2 separate regions of the Homo sapiens genome follow, and region 1 is linked to region 2. Evidence: promoter capture Hi-C in human tissues and cell types (Jung and others, 2019). All regions are on one chromosome and are shown on one strand. The core of a region is centred on a gene start or on the middle of the fragment in contact, and the rest is flanking DNA. Distances in the headings are between cores, read along the strand shown. Region 1 overlaps LRRC28 (leucine rich repeat containing 28). Region 2 holds the start of ADAMTS17 (ADAM metallopeptidase with thrombospondin type 1 motif 17).

Evidence for each region. Contacts are between HindIII fragments. The study calls those that stand out against the background at their distance.
Region 1: a fragment that was not itself captured here is called in contact with the fragment with the promoter of ADAMTS17 in region 2 in 1 of the 25 tissues and cell types used here (dorsolateral prefrontal cortex).

What each region holds. Positions count from the first base shown.
Region 1 is chr15:99,266,597-99,273,012 of GRCh38, reverse strand. All of the region lies in intron 2 of LRRC28 (leucine rich repeat containing 28), which reads right to left. Among named protein-coding and RNA genes, the nearest start is that of LRRC28, 18 kb to the right of the region's middle. The HindIII fragment of the contact is 5,601 bases long and covers 1-5,557 here.
Region 2 is chr15:100,340,514-100,347,694 of GRCh38, reverse strand. It overlaps ADAMTS17 (ADAM metallopeptidase with thrombospondin type 1 motif 17), which reads left to right and starts at 5,720. Exons shown (of 22, transcript NM_139057.4): 1 at 5,720-5,874; 2 at 6,286-6,656. The coding sequence starts at 5,796. It overlaps SPATA41 (spermatogenesis associated 41), which reads left to right. Exons shown (of 2, transcript NR_028139.1): 2 at 2,068-3,238. RefSeq lists an enhancer at 6,868-7,181. The HindIII fragment of the contact is 7,903 bases long and covers 897-7,181 here.

The DNA of each region.
Region 1 (6,416 bases), core at 1,508-4,007, 1.1 Mb after region 2:
GTCAGAATTTTTGTTACTTTGTGGGTAACTAAGCTCTAATGTTGGATTACAGAAGCCACACAAACTAGTGTATCCTAATCCATAGGATTTACAAGCTATGAAGTTTTTTAATGTTTTTAAATTTAAAATCCTGATAAAAGCAATAGTCTTAAAGTGCTTCTCAAATCTATTATTACCTTCTTTTTTCACAATTTGAAACAGAAAAGTTTATCAGATAAACATAACATGTACTCAGATACCTCCTACTAAATTACCTAGAAATTGTTTCTCTAAATCAAGCCAAGGATTCTCTTCATTAAATCTCATTTACATTATTATCTAGCTAAACAACTTTTCTTTACAATAATGAAAAAGTAAACTTCAGCAAGCACAGTTAGTATAAAACTTACCCCAAATTCTGAATCAATGATGCTTTACCATATTCTTTTAGACTCCACTTAAATGGGAATGTTTTAAAATTTTTTAACTTGGAACAAATACGTCAAATATTTTGCAAACACCACCATGTTCAATAGTATTTTCTGGTGGGCACTGTGCATTACCTACTTTCTTTCCTTCTCTTTCCGAACACCTGCTAGGACTGCACATCTTTCATCAAGCTGGCCATGGCTAAGTGACTAGCTTGGTCAGTGAAATTAAGCCAAAGAGGAAGCCTTGACAAGATTGAGTGCAAAAGACCTCACCCCTTCCACAGTGACCACCAGACGGTGGACGTTTTGTCAGCTTCATTCCTGGGCAGAGGCTCCAGGCTCTGAGAGACTAGTACAGTGTAGACAAGAAATATGTGTGCTGTTACAAGCCACTAGGACTCAGGGTTTGGCAAAACCTGCTCCATCCTGGCTTCTAACAACACATTTCAAAGAAGTCACAGATTAAATGCATTTGGGTTGTTATACAAGCTATAAAAAGCAGAAGAAAGCAGAATGAATTTGGACCACTATCTCATACCATATACAAAAATTAACTCAAAATGGATCAACAACTTAAATTTAAGAGCTAAAACCACACTTCATAGAAGAAAACATAGGAGTAAATCTCCATAATCTTAGATTTGGCAATGAATTCATAGCTATTACATCAAAAGCATGAGCAGCAACAGAAAAATAGATACACTGGCCAGGTGCAGTGGCTCAAGCCTGTAATCTCAACATTTTGGGAGGCCAAAGTGGGTGGATCATTTGAAGTCAAGAGTTCGAGACCAGCCCGACCAACATGGTCAAACCTCATCTCTACTAAAAATACAAAAAAATTAGCCGGGCGTGGTGGCATGCGCCTATAGTACCAGCTACTCTGGAGGCTGAGGCAAGAGAATCCCTTGAACCCAGGAGGGGGAGGTTGCAGTGAGCTGAGATCACGCCACTGTACTCCAGCTTGGGCAACAGAGTGAGACTCCATCTCTAAATAAATATATAAATAAATAAATAAAAGAAAAATAGGGCTGGATGCGGTGGCTCACGCCTGTAATTCCAGCACTTTGAGAGGCTGAGGCAAGTGGATCATGAGGTCAAGGGATGGAGACCATCCTGGCCAACATGGTGAAACCCCATGTCTACTAAAAATATAAACATTAGCTGGGCATGGTGGCACACACCTGTAGTCCTAGCTATTTGGGAGGCTGAGGCAGGAGAATCGCTTGAACCCAGGAGGCAGAGGTTGCAGTGAGCCAAGATGGTGCCACTGCACTCCAGCCTGGCAATAGAATGAGACTCATCTCAAAAAAAAAAAAATAGATACACTGGATGTCATCAAAATGTAAAAACTTGTGTGTATTACAGGCCACTACAAGAAAATAAAAAACACAACCTACAGAATGGGAGAAAATACTTACAAATCATATATCTGGCAAAGGTCTAGCATCCAGACTATAAAAAGAACCCTTACAATTCAACCACAAAACAACAACTCAATTAAAAAATGGGCAAAGGATCTGAACAGACATTTCTCCCAAGAAGATATGCAAATGACCAACAAGCACATGTAGAGATGCTCAACATCATTAGCATTAGGGAAATGCAAATCAAAACTACAATAAGGTGACACTTCATACCCACTATGACAGCTGTAACACTAACAAAAAAAGAAAAGTAACAAGTGTTGGCAAGAATGTGGAGAAACTGGAACCATTGTGCACTGCTGGCGGTAATGTAAAATGGCTCAGCCACTTTTTGGTGGCTCCTCAAAAGTTAAGCATAAAATTACCGTATGACCCTGTAATTCCGCTCTTATTTATATACCCAAAAGAACTGAAAACAGGTCCTTCAACATGTCCATTCATGTTCATAGCAGCACTATTCACAATAGCTAAAAAGTGGAAATAGCCCAAATGTCCATCAGTAGATGAATGGGTAAACAAATGGTGGTATAGCCATACAATGGAATCCCTACGGAATCACACACAAAAAAAGAAGTACTGATATATGCTAAAACTTGGATAAACCTTGGAAACATTTTGCTAAGTGAAAGAAGCCAGATACACAAAGTTTCATATTTTGTGATCCCATTTATATAAAATATCTAGAGTTAACCCAGAGAGAAAACAGATTGCTGGTTACCAGGGCTGGGTGTGGGAGCTGAGGGTGGGGGCGGGGCAATGGGGAGGAACTGCTTAATGGGTGAGGGGTTTTACTCTGGAGTGAACGAAATGTTTGGAACTAGACAGAGGTGGCTGCATCCACGGTGAATGTACTGAATCCTATTGTCATTTCAATAGGATTAATTTTATGTTATGTCAGTTTCACCCCAATAAATTCGTTTTCGTTTTTAAAAAGCTAATGAAGTCTTGGCACTGAAGGAATAAAAAGTACTTCATTCACAAACTACCACAACACACTTAACAAGCTTTTTAGTTGAATCAATAAGTTGATGTCATTGCTTCTGAGCAGGTACACGACATGAGTTAAATACCACGTGTCCAGATTTTTTAAAACTGTGGTAGACCTCTTTTCAACTTGTCCATTCCTTCTCCAGTATTTCCCTCCATTTTTATATATGTCATAGAGCAATATTTATCAACAGAGGAATCAGAAACCCTAGCAGGCTAATGGTACAGAATGAAGGAACCAGCATTCTTTCTTCTTCCCCAGTAGCATAAATGCCTTCAGGGTCCTAGTTACCATTACCTTTGTCTCTTGACTCACTTCATAATAATTACTCATTTTCCTTTGTTTCTCTCTCTGCCATGATGGAAACATTATCTGTGTTGTCCAATATGGCAGACACTAGCCACATGTGGCTATGAAGCACTTAAAATGTGGCTATGTGATGGAGGAACTGAATTTTTAATATTATTTTACTTTAATTTAAATGTTAAGGCCAGGCATGGTAGCTCACACCTGTAATCCTAACACTTTGGGAGGCTGAGGGAGGTGGATTACCTGAGGTCAGGAATTCAAGACCAGCCCGGCCAACATGGTGAAACCCGTCTCTACTAAAAACACAAAAATTAGCTGGGCGTGATGGCGGGTGCCTGTAATCCCAGCTACTCGGGAGGATGAGGCAGGAGAATCACTTGAACCTGAGAGGCAGAGGTTGCAGTAAGCTGAGTTCGTGCCACTGCACTCCAGCCTGGGTGAAAACTCTGTCTCCAAAAAAAAAAAAAGTTAACAGCACATGTGGCTGGTAAAGTGTGCAGAATTCATACCTTCATATTCACTACTGATTTTTCACTTAAACTCAGCTCTTTCAAATGTAAAACATGAAGAATAACTACTTAACTGTAAGAATGATAAATGTTTTAGATTATTTTTCTTAGAAATAAATGAAAGTATTTGCTTAGCATTTGTAGAAATTAAAATTGTCATCTTAAGAAATGTAAATGAAAATATTTTAAGTATCTTCAAATCTACAAATGTTTTCTGGCAAAAAATGTAAAACAAACATCAAGACTGATATTTTTAACTTAGCAAAAACTTACAGAATGAGCTCAAAATAAAAAAAACTATACATCCAGTACATTTACAAAAATACAATGTTTCTGAATTTGATAGAAATTTGATTGCCAAGAAAAGATTTTTCAAAAGAAAAAACAGGCATTAAAAATTGCTGAAATGCCTCTTGAAGTGTTTATCTTAATATTTGTTAAAACTTTAAGTTATGTAAATGTCGGAAACAAGGGTTGGAGGTTACAAGCATCAAGTGTCTTCTCCAGCTTTTTATTTTTAAAAAAACCTATTTAATAAACATGCCATAAGTATGATTTTATAAATGCAATTTTCAAAGCAATATAAAAATACACACAAAAATAGAATACCAAACACATTCCCATTAAGCCAGATCAATGATTTAAGATTACACCTAGCTTGAACAATTCTGTAAGTTTATGACATAACTGTTTGGTTTTGCGGGGGTGGGGTGGGGAGCATGTTCCAAGATCCGTGTACAAGTGCCTTACTTACATAACGTATGTATTTGTTGACTGATTCGATGGGACTAACAGTTAGGCACTGGTGTCTCACTTCCAGTACACAGGTGCCTCATTAAAGTGAATGCCTGAAAAATGAATTTAAACTTGTGGAAACATACATACACCAATGGTTTTGAGTCTTTTGCTTGCAAATAACACCCTTCGAGTACACAAGATAATGGTCTGTTCTAAGAAAAGACCCCTAGCCCTGCCACCTCTTTCTAAACTGTCCCCCTCCTAACTCCCTAGGCAGAAACTACAAATTACAGGGTATATGCTAAGTCAGGTTCCCTACATTTCATTTAAAAAGCAAAGAATGATACATGTTTAAAAATATTTCTATTAAGCTAGACTTTTATTCACAGGAAAACTCAGACACAGACTTTACAAAAATTAACTGGGAAAATTCACTTAACATGCAGCACTTCATTTCTCCACAGTCGATAAACGTGGTTAAATTTTAACGACATGGTGGTGCTAGGCTAGGAAGAGGTTATCAATAAATATCTACAGAATTAAAATGAAGCAAAACTAACTGGACCACAAATTAGGAGACCTTATTTTTGCACTGAAAAGTGACTTTAGAACCAGCCATTATCCTCTTCTTAGTTTCCTCAAAAAGAAAAATTGTCTAAATTATAAATAAAGCTTCTAGCTTTAAAATCCTATGACTCCATAAATAGAGTTAAGTTATGGAACAGACGTTCATTTTCCTGAAAAATGAAAGTCATTATGACATGTGAGAGGCTTGAGTTTCTTAATTATTTGACAAGGAATCACCGTTTCACATTACTGACAAGGAATCAGTAACAATGACAGAAAAGCTTCTAAATCTGAAAATTCAACAGGAAAAGAAGCTGTTGTAACAAAACTTAATTTTCAGGCACATGTGTATTATGAAGACAGGATAAATGTGCAATGGCTGTTTTCCAGAACTGTACCACATTTACTTACAAACACTAAAACACTAACGGACCATTAGAATGCTTTACTATTTGATATACTCACATATTTCCACATAGTCAATTTAAGAAACAGAGATGCTTTTATACAGAGCTAGCTCAAGAACAGTGCAATCATGGCGATTATGGAGGCCCTGCACCCTAGCAGCAGTTCAAGCTGCAAGGATCCAACAGACTGGAGAAAAACAAGAAGTCCTTGCTCTGGAATTCAAAATGAACCAAACTAATAACAAAACTTAATTCCCGCTCCCGGTTTCTCCTACCGCACTTGGCTGTATGATGCTCTTTTAGGCCATCTCCTTAACTTACTGTTTTTCCCCTCAGGGTGTTCTGATCCTTATTTGATCCAGATCCTACTACTACCAAATTCAAGGAGGGGGTGGCGGATATAGTTGTGTGACTTTCCTAGCCATCAACCTCTCTCACCCTCACCTAACCACCGGCTAAGAGAGTCATCTATGTCAATATGGCATAAACATATGCATCGCTGTAAATCAAAATATTTAGACTAGCTGATTAGAAAGCTTGATAAAAACTTAGTGGCACTATATTCTAACCATCTTATTTTAACTGACTCCAAATTATAAAAATAAATATTTACTGAAAGTAATATAAACCAAACTTACTAGTAGAGTTTTCCCTTGTCCTATAAACACTTAAGTAAGGCTGTTTCTTTCAGCCTCCACCCCTACCCTCATACTCTCCATCCATCTCCAACTTTAATCATTATTCAGTTTGATGTACATTTTATGACTTAGTTTATTTGTCTATAAAATAAGGATCATAATAGTGCCTACATCACAGGATTGTCCTGAGGATTAAATAATACATGTCATTTGCGTAAAACTGTTTGAGCACTTGGTAAAGACTCAAACAGTGCTAGCTGCTATCATATTTTAACAAATCCATTATTGATGAATATCGAGGTTTTAACAATTTTTCATCATATTCAATTTTGTGATAAACACTCTTGTTCACCAGACTTTTCTATTGGGTAGATTCTTGCAAGTGAAAATGCCGATTCAAACACATATCCATGTAGTTTTGCTAGA
Region 2 (7,181 bases), core at 4,471-6,970:
AAAGATTGGTTCAAGATCAACTCTTTGAAAAATCAAAGTATTACTTTTACAAATGCTTTTTTGATATTTCTCAACCAATTAACCTTGAAAAGTTCACCATGAAGTTGAATTGCCTAAACTTATACATTGTATGGGCACTGAGATGCAATTTTTAGGGCTGTGTGGGCATCAGCGATGCCTGTTTTCAATACATTGTAGCTATGCTCAGTGTCATGGGCCTTGTAGGGCTGACCTCTTTTTGTCCAAGCATTGAAGCCAATCTAAAACTCTTTTCCAAAAAGAAAATGTTTTCTTTGCTAATAAGTCACCATCAACTGCAGCAGAGGCAGCTGTTTGGGCTTCACAATTTGCGGAAGCACATGCCAGCCTGGCTCTGTTTTGTGCTTGTTCACAGTATATGGCTTTGGCCTTGTTCAGCATCAGGGAGTAGCTGTTCCTTGGGTCATGCATGGAGTTGGATTTAACCCTGGCTTTCAGCTGGCCAGTCCTCATCAGGAGCTTGGGCAGGAGAAATAGTACTCTGGTGAATGGTCTGAAGACATTAGATCATAGATGACCTTGGCTGCAAGCAACTAAATCCAGACCACAACAGTTTATCCAAATAGGGTTAACCAAACAAGTACAATGTGTACCCAAATGATATCAGTGTCCCATGATCCTTCCATCATCCACTGGATGATTTCTTAATTCAAAGTCAAACAAAAACAAAAGCAGATTTGAAACATTCTCATCCATCCTTGAAACTGGATCACATGCCATGGTCTCGCTCTTTGAAGTGGTCAACTGAACAGCTGGATACATGGTCTGGAGCTGGGAGGAGGAGTGCCTTAGTCCATTCCTGCTGCTATGACAAAATAGCTTAGACTTGGTAATTTATAAATAATAGACATTTATTTCTCATTGTTCTGGTGGCTGGGAAGTCCAAGGTCAAGGTGCCGGCAGATTCAGTGTCTGGTAAGCTCTCTGTGTCCAGGATGACACCTTGTTGCTGCATCTTCTGAAGAGGACAAATGCTGTGTCCTCATATGGCAGAAGAGATGCAGGGCAAAAGGGCCAAGAAGCCCTCTTGAGCCTCTTTAATGAGGGCATTAATTCCATTCATGAGGGCAGAGCCCTCATGACTTTGGGCCTTAACCCAAAAGGCTCCACCTCTTAATACCAGCACAATGAGGTAAGTTTCACCATGAATTTTGGAGGGACATAAACATTCAAACCGCGGCAAAGAGTCTGGACCAGGGGATGACTCTGTGAAGTGCGTGCTTGTCCACTGCCAAAAGAAAGGGATAAGATGAGGAATGCGAAGCTGAGAAGGGGAGGGTTCGAGATCAGCACTGCATTGAGAGAAAGGGGAGTTGGGCAGAGGAGTGTAGTAGCAATGGTGGGCATGGCGATGGCTCAAATGAAGAAGGTGATTGCAGATTTCCCTGTTGCATGCTTGGCTCCAGTGGTGTTCAGAGCTCAACCACATGCTCAGTGAGAGTAGAGAGTTGAGTTTACCCAGGCCTGTAGTTCTGCATGACAACTGCAGTGAAAAGGGATAGGGGAGGGTGCTGAGCATATTGGCAAGAGTGTTTTCAGAGTCATGGGGCCTGGAATGCAAGCTGGATATGGAGGCAAGTGAAGAGAGGCTGGTGGGTTGGGAGATGCAGACTGAGAGACCTTCTGAGGTAGGAGCATTTGGACGAGCATGCTGGGAGGACAAGAAGCTGTGGTCAGAGGTGGATGTTCAAGTTTTGGAAGGTGGAACAGCTAGGGGTGATGACAAGGTGTAGGGTGTGAATTTGAGAGTGGACAGTTGGGGCAGCATAGCACAGAAGGTCACTGAAGGAGGAAATTGAGGAGCCCAGAGCCCAGGGTGGGGGATGGGAGTTGTCTATATGTGTGTCTGTTAGGGGTCGAGTTTGGCTGCATATAACAGACAACCCAAATAGCAACAGCTTAAAAGAGACAAGAGTATATTTTTTTTCTGATATAGCAAAAAGTGCAGAAGTAGACAGCTCAGGTCTGGCATGGTGACTCCAAGATGTCATCAGCAACCCAGAGTTCATTGATCTTTTTGCTTCCCAGGGGTCTGGCACTCTTCCTCATGCTTACGAGATGGCTGCTGGAATTCCAGGAATCACATGCAAATTCTAGTCAGGAGCAAAGAGGAAGAGACACAGTGAAAAGGGGTATACAGCGGCAGAAGGAAGCTCCTCAAATGAACTCTGCTAGAACTCTAGCCAGTAGCTTCTCCTTCTATCACAGTGGCCAGAACTGTGACAAGTGACCATCCTTAGGGGAAAAAAGATGCTGAGAAATGTGAATTTTGTTGCCACCTTACATTTTCAAAGGAGTTCCATTCGTAAGTACAGAACGCTCAGAGAAGAGGCAGCAGATCTAGGATATGGAGCAGCAGCTCTTAAGGGCACAGTGGGAAGGTTTCAAGACTGAGGAGGATCTTGGATTTGGGTAGGGGAAGGCAGTTCACAGTATTGTGGAGGAAATGCTGTGAAAGAGAAAGTGGAAGGCATGGAAGCTTAAACTTTTAATATGACTGGTGAATACAAGGATGAAGGGCAAAGGGAATTCAGACTCATGGTGGTCAGATTAAGACCTTCAGCGGCTCTGTCTCCCAGCCCCACATACCCACTTCCATGTTCTGCTCTTTACTGAAGCTGAAAGTCTGCAACCTTCATTCTCTGACTCCCTTACATTTTCTTAGGCTTCTTGCTAGCTTCTGCCAAAAAGAGGCCCTGGCAGGAGATTAGATGGCAGGAGGCAGAGGTAAGGATTCCATGTTAACAGGTGCTGGAAGTTGCTGGTGTGGCAATGAGAACTGGGCCCCGGTCAAGGCAGCACTACTTTGGTAGATCCAGAATCAACCATGATAACCGTGACAGTGTCTTCAACAGTGCAGCAGTAGACACAGGCCCCTGGTGCTGGAATCCAATACAGGGACAGGAGCAGCACGGAGTCACGGAACACCGTCTTGCCTTCATGTCACTTTACCATTTCTTCTTTCTCCCTCTTACTCTACCAGCTACCTGTGGAGATGTTGAACCTTTTATCTGTCGCTGTCTGCTTAGGAACAGAAGAAAAGGCAGCTGATTGCTTGACTCAGCTTTCAGCTTGATTTTTTTCCTTTGGCAGAGTGAATTGGGGTCCCAGGTGTTCATTTTCCTTTTGTAGTACCTTTCCTCAGCATGCAATTAATACAAAAAGAACAATAAACCTTAACAAAGTTTGGCTTGTATTATTCCAGACTTTCCTCTTGGATTTTATGTACACTTATCTGAATCCATGCAGATCATGTCATGTGTGTCTGTGTGTTTATACACATTTTTTTTTCGGTGTGCCTCATTCTGCAACTTGATTTTTTAAAAAATTCGATAACTGATCTTGGAGATCTGTCCATGTTGTTACATATATGAGATTTTTGTATTTCCTTTAATTAATGGTGTTCAAGTAGCCGTTTATGTAACGATGAACATTCAGGTTTTTGCAATTTTTTGCTCTTAATAAGGTGCCCTGGTGAACAAACATTCTTGTACATGTGCCAGAGTTTCTCTGGAGTAATTAACCAGCGTGGAATTACAGAGTTGTAGAATGTGTGCATTTTTAGTTTTATTAAAACTAAAAAGTAAAACTTTAATTTTACAGTTTGCCCAATTGTTCCTCAGAGTGGCTGTGCCAATTTATACTCTCCACCCCTAGGTAGGAGAGTGTCCTCTCTAATTCTTGATTTTTCTAAGCTCTTTAATTTTGGTTAGTTGGGAGATAAAATAGTATCTTTCTGTTTTAGTTTTCATGTCCCTATGGACTAATTTTAGCATTTGAGCATCTTGGATAGGTTCTTGATAGGTTGGTGATGGCTACTTCAGGCTGACTTGCGCTTGTGAGGTGGTGTGGCCCATACTCCATGGTTTTCAGTGGCAGGCCTTAGAAATGGCTCTTTTTGACAAAAAGATTCACTAAGAAACTTACTGTGATATCTTTAAAAAAATTAATATTTTGTGAGTACGTAGTAGGTGTATATGTTTACAAAATGTATATACATGAAATTTTTTGATATGGCCATACAATGAGTAATAATCCCATCAGGGTAAATGAGGTGTCCATCACCTCAATCACCAAGGTTTCTTGTGCTGCCAGAAAATGCTACTGAGCTGTCAGTCATCTGAGGTTGTTGACCTGGACAGAGGCAAGGGGGAGAAACACAGCCCCAGGCCTGGCCAAGAGCAGGACCTGTGCAGATGCCCCCAGAACTGTAGGTGCCAAGCAGTGAGGGCAGCCCCTTTTGTGGCAAGCCTCTGTGGAGGGTCACTGTTCAGCCTTGGGGTTCATTATATTTCGGGGAAGGTGGCCAGTGTTATAGATTCCTTCAGATGATATGTAATCCTGTGATGAATTTAGATTCCGAGGCTTCAAGCAGCATCCAGCGGGGAACTATAACCTTTCTGCTATGATAAAATGGAAAAGAGCAGGACAGGGAAGGGACGGGAAACCTGAGATTGGTTATGGTTACACTTAATTGTTTTTTTTGTTTTGTTTGGTTTTGTTTTGTTTTTTTGAGATGGAGTCTTGCTCTGTTGCCCAGGCTGGAGTGCAGTGGCACAATCTCGGCTCACTGCAACCTCCACCCCCCGGGTTCAAGCGATTCTTCTGCCTTAGCCTCCCGAGTAGCTGGGACTACAGGTGTGCGCCATCACGCCTGGCTAATTTTTGTATTTTTAGTAGAGACAGGGTTTCACCATATTGGCCAGGCTAGTCTGGAACCCCTGACTTCGTGACCCGCCCGCCTTGGCCTCCCAAAGTGCTGGGATTACAGGCATGAGCCTCTACAAGATGCTATTCAGCAAGCTAATGGAGTCACCTTCCCTGCAGACCTCAGTTATATTGTGGCAGGAAAGGATCAACTCATTCTGTTTCTGGGAGACTCACGTTCAAGGCTAGGCTTTGGGACTTTGTGCCTCCGTTTCCTAACCTGTAACACTGAGTCCTGCTTCCCTCGGGGCGGGGGGATCCTGCTGTTAATAAGAAGCACCAAGCCAGAAATCAGGATCACAAATTCTAGCCTCTGCTCCAACAGGAACTCTCTGGGTAACTTCAGCGTTTTTCCTTAAGCTCTCTCTCTTCCTCAGTTTTTCAGTCTGTAAGAGGGTGTGAGCATGCGTGTTGCACTGGCTCCTGTGGGATTAAAGAAGACAGGAGGTGTGAAGAGTTTGGATAAACGCCGCGGATATAGCCTTCAGGTGCTAACTCAGGTGTGCGGGAAAGTGGACTGGGAGTCTTTGCGGCCACAAACAACTAAAACCTAACTTCAGATGTAAAGATTATATGCAGTTTTGGATGAAACCGCTTGGCCGGGGCGATTTCCGCCCTACCTTCCCGGGAAACTGGGCAGCAGGCTGAGAGAGTTCCAAAATGAGGACAAGCTCTGAAGACCAGCCCCGCATCCTCCAGCTCTTCCAGGGTCCCACGGCTCCGGTCGGCTCCCGCGCGCCACCTGGTGCCGTGTCCCCGCCACTGCCCAGAAACCACGTGTAAGAAAGCGCTGACAACCTAACTACGCACTGTGGTTTCGACCCATCCCAACCAGTAGGGAAGGAGGAGGCGGGGCGGAGGAAAGCGAGGGCCCAATCCCCTCCCGCCTTCCGAGGGGAAGGCGGGGCTTGGGGTTTACCACGTTGGGTTTGTCCGCAGCGCTAATTACTTTTTCCAAAGGCTGGAGGGCTTCACTCCGGCTGGCGCCGCCGCCTAGCGCGCTCCTGCTTCGCCGCCACGGTCCGGGGGGGCTGCCGGTCCCGGGTACCATGTGTGACGGCGCCCTGCTGCCTCCGCTCGTCCTGCCCGTGCTGCTGCTGCTGGTTTGGGGACTGGACCCGGGCACAGGTAGCGCCCCCTCCCACAGCCCTCTTCACCCCGCGTCCTGCGGCTACCTTCCCTCTGCGTTCTCGCGGCGTCCTGGCGGCCCGGGGGCGGCGGCGGGACCGCTGACGGCGCCCGAGCGGAGGAGGCGCGGGCCGCGGCCGGAGTACGGGAATCGGGTGGCTCCGTGGCAGGCGCGCCGCCGCCGGGTCTCCGCTCGCCGATGCGCGGCGCCGTTCCGGGAGGTGCTCGCGCGGCTGCGCCGGAGACCCTCCCCGGGTGGCGCGGGCCAGCGTGGAGGTGCCGGGCGAGGGAAGGGAAGGCAGCGCCGGCTCCGGGTCGCGCTGTCCCCGCGCTGGCGCGGCTGGCGGCCAGCGGGAGGGCGGGCGTCCGGGCGGGCCCCGCCGCGCTGACGCGTCTCCTCTCTCCCCGCAGCTGTCGGCGACGCGGCGGCCGACGTGGAGGTGGTGCTCCCGTGGCGGGTGCGCCCCGACGACGTGCACCTGCCGCCGCTGCCCGCAGCCCCCGGGCCCCGACGGCGGCGACGCCCCCGCACGCCCCCAGCCGCCCCGCGCGCCCGGCCCGGAGAGCGCGCCCTGCTGCTGCACCTGCCGGCCTTCGGGCGCGACCTGTACCTTCAGCTGCGCCGCGACCTGCGCTTCCTGTCCCGAGGCTTCGAGGTGGAGGAGGCGGGCGCGGCCCGGCGCCGCGGCCGCCCCGCCGAGCTGTGCTTCTACTCGGGCCGTGTGCTCGGCCACCCCGGCTCCCTCGTCTCGCTCAGCGCCTGCGGCGCCGCCGGCGGCCTGGTACTGCCCGCGCCACCTCCGGGTCGGCCCGTCCGGTCTGTTGCGACGCAGAGTGGTCGCCGTGGAGGGTGGGGGTGGGGCGCCTCTGCTGGAAGTCCAGCCTCCAGGGGAACCGGAGGGAACCCCCTGCCTTTCCACCTCTCCCCATCCCCCACCCCGGCCTTCGGTACCCTCTATAGGCAAAGGGGGTGGGAGGGGCAGCATCCCAGTCCAGCGCCTCTGCAGCCCGTGGAACCCGCGCGGAGCTGGGGTTGCGTGGGGTATACGCCGCCCGCTCTAGGGAGCGCAGATCTGGCAGGGATGAAACTGTCAGGGCCCTGGACAGAGGCGCCTTGGCCCCAATGTAGAGAACACTGCATCTGCACCGCCGTGTCAAAGTGTATGTCACGGGAGTACCTGTGTACGTGTAGGTGTTATGTTCTTGGACTTGGAGGTGGGGGAGTGGGCATTCACCTCCCTTCCTTTTGAGTCTTCTCTCTGTACCTGGAACAGGAAGTTTGGAGAGGTACCCAGACAGGCCACGGC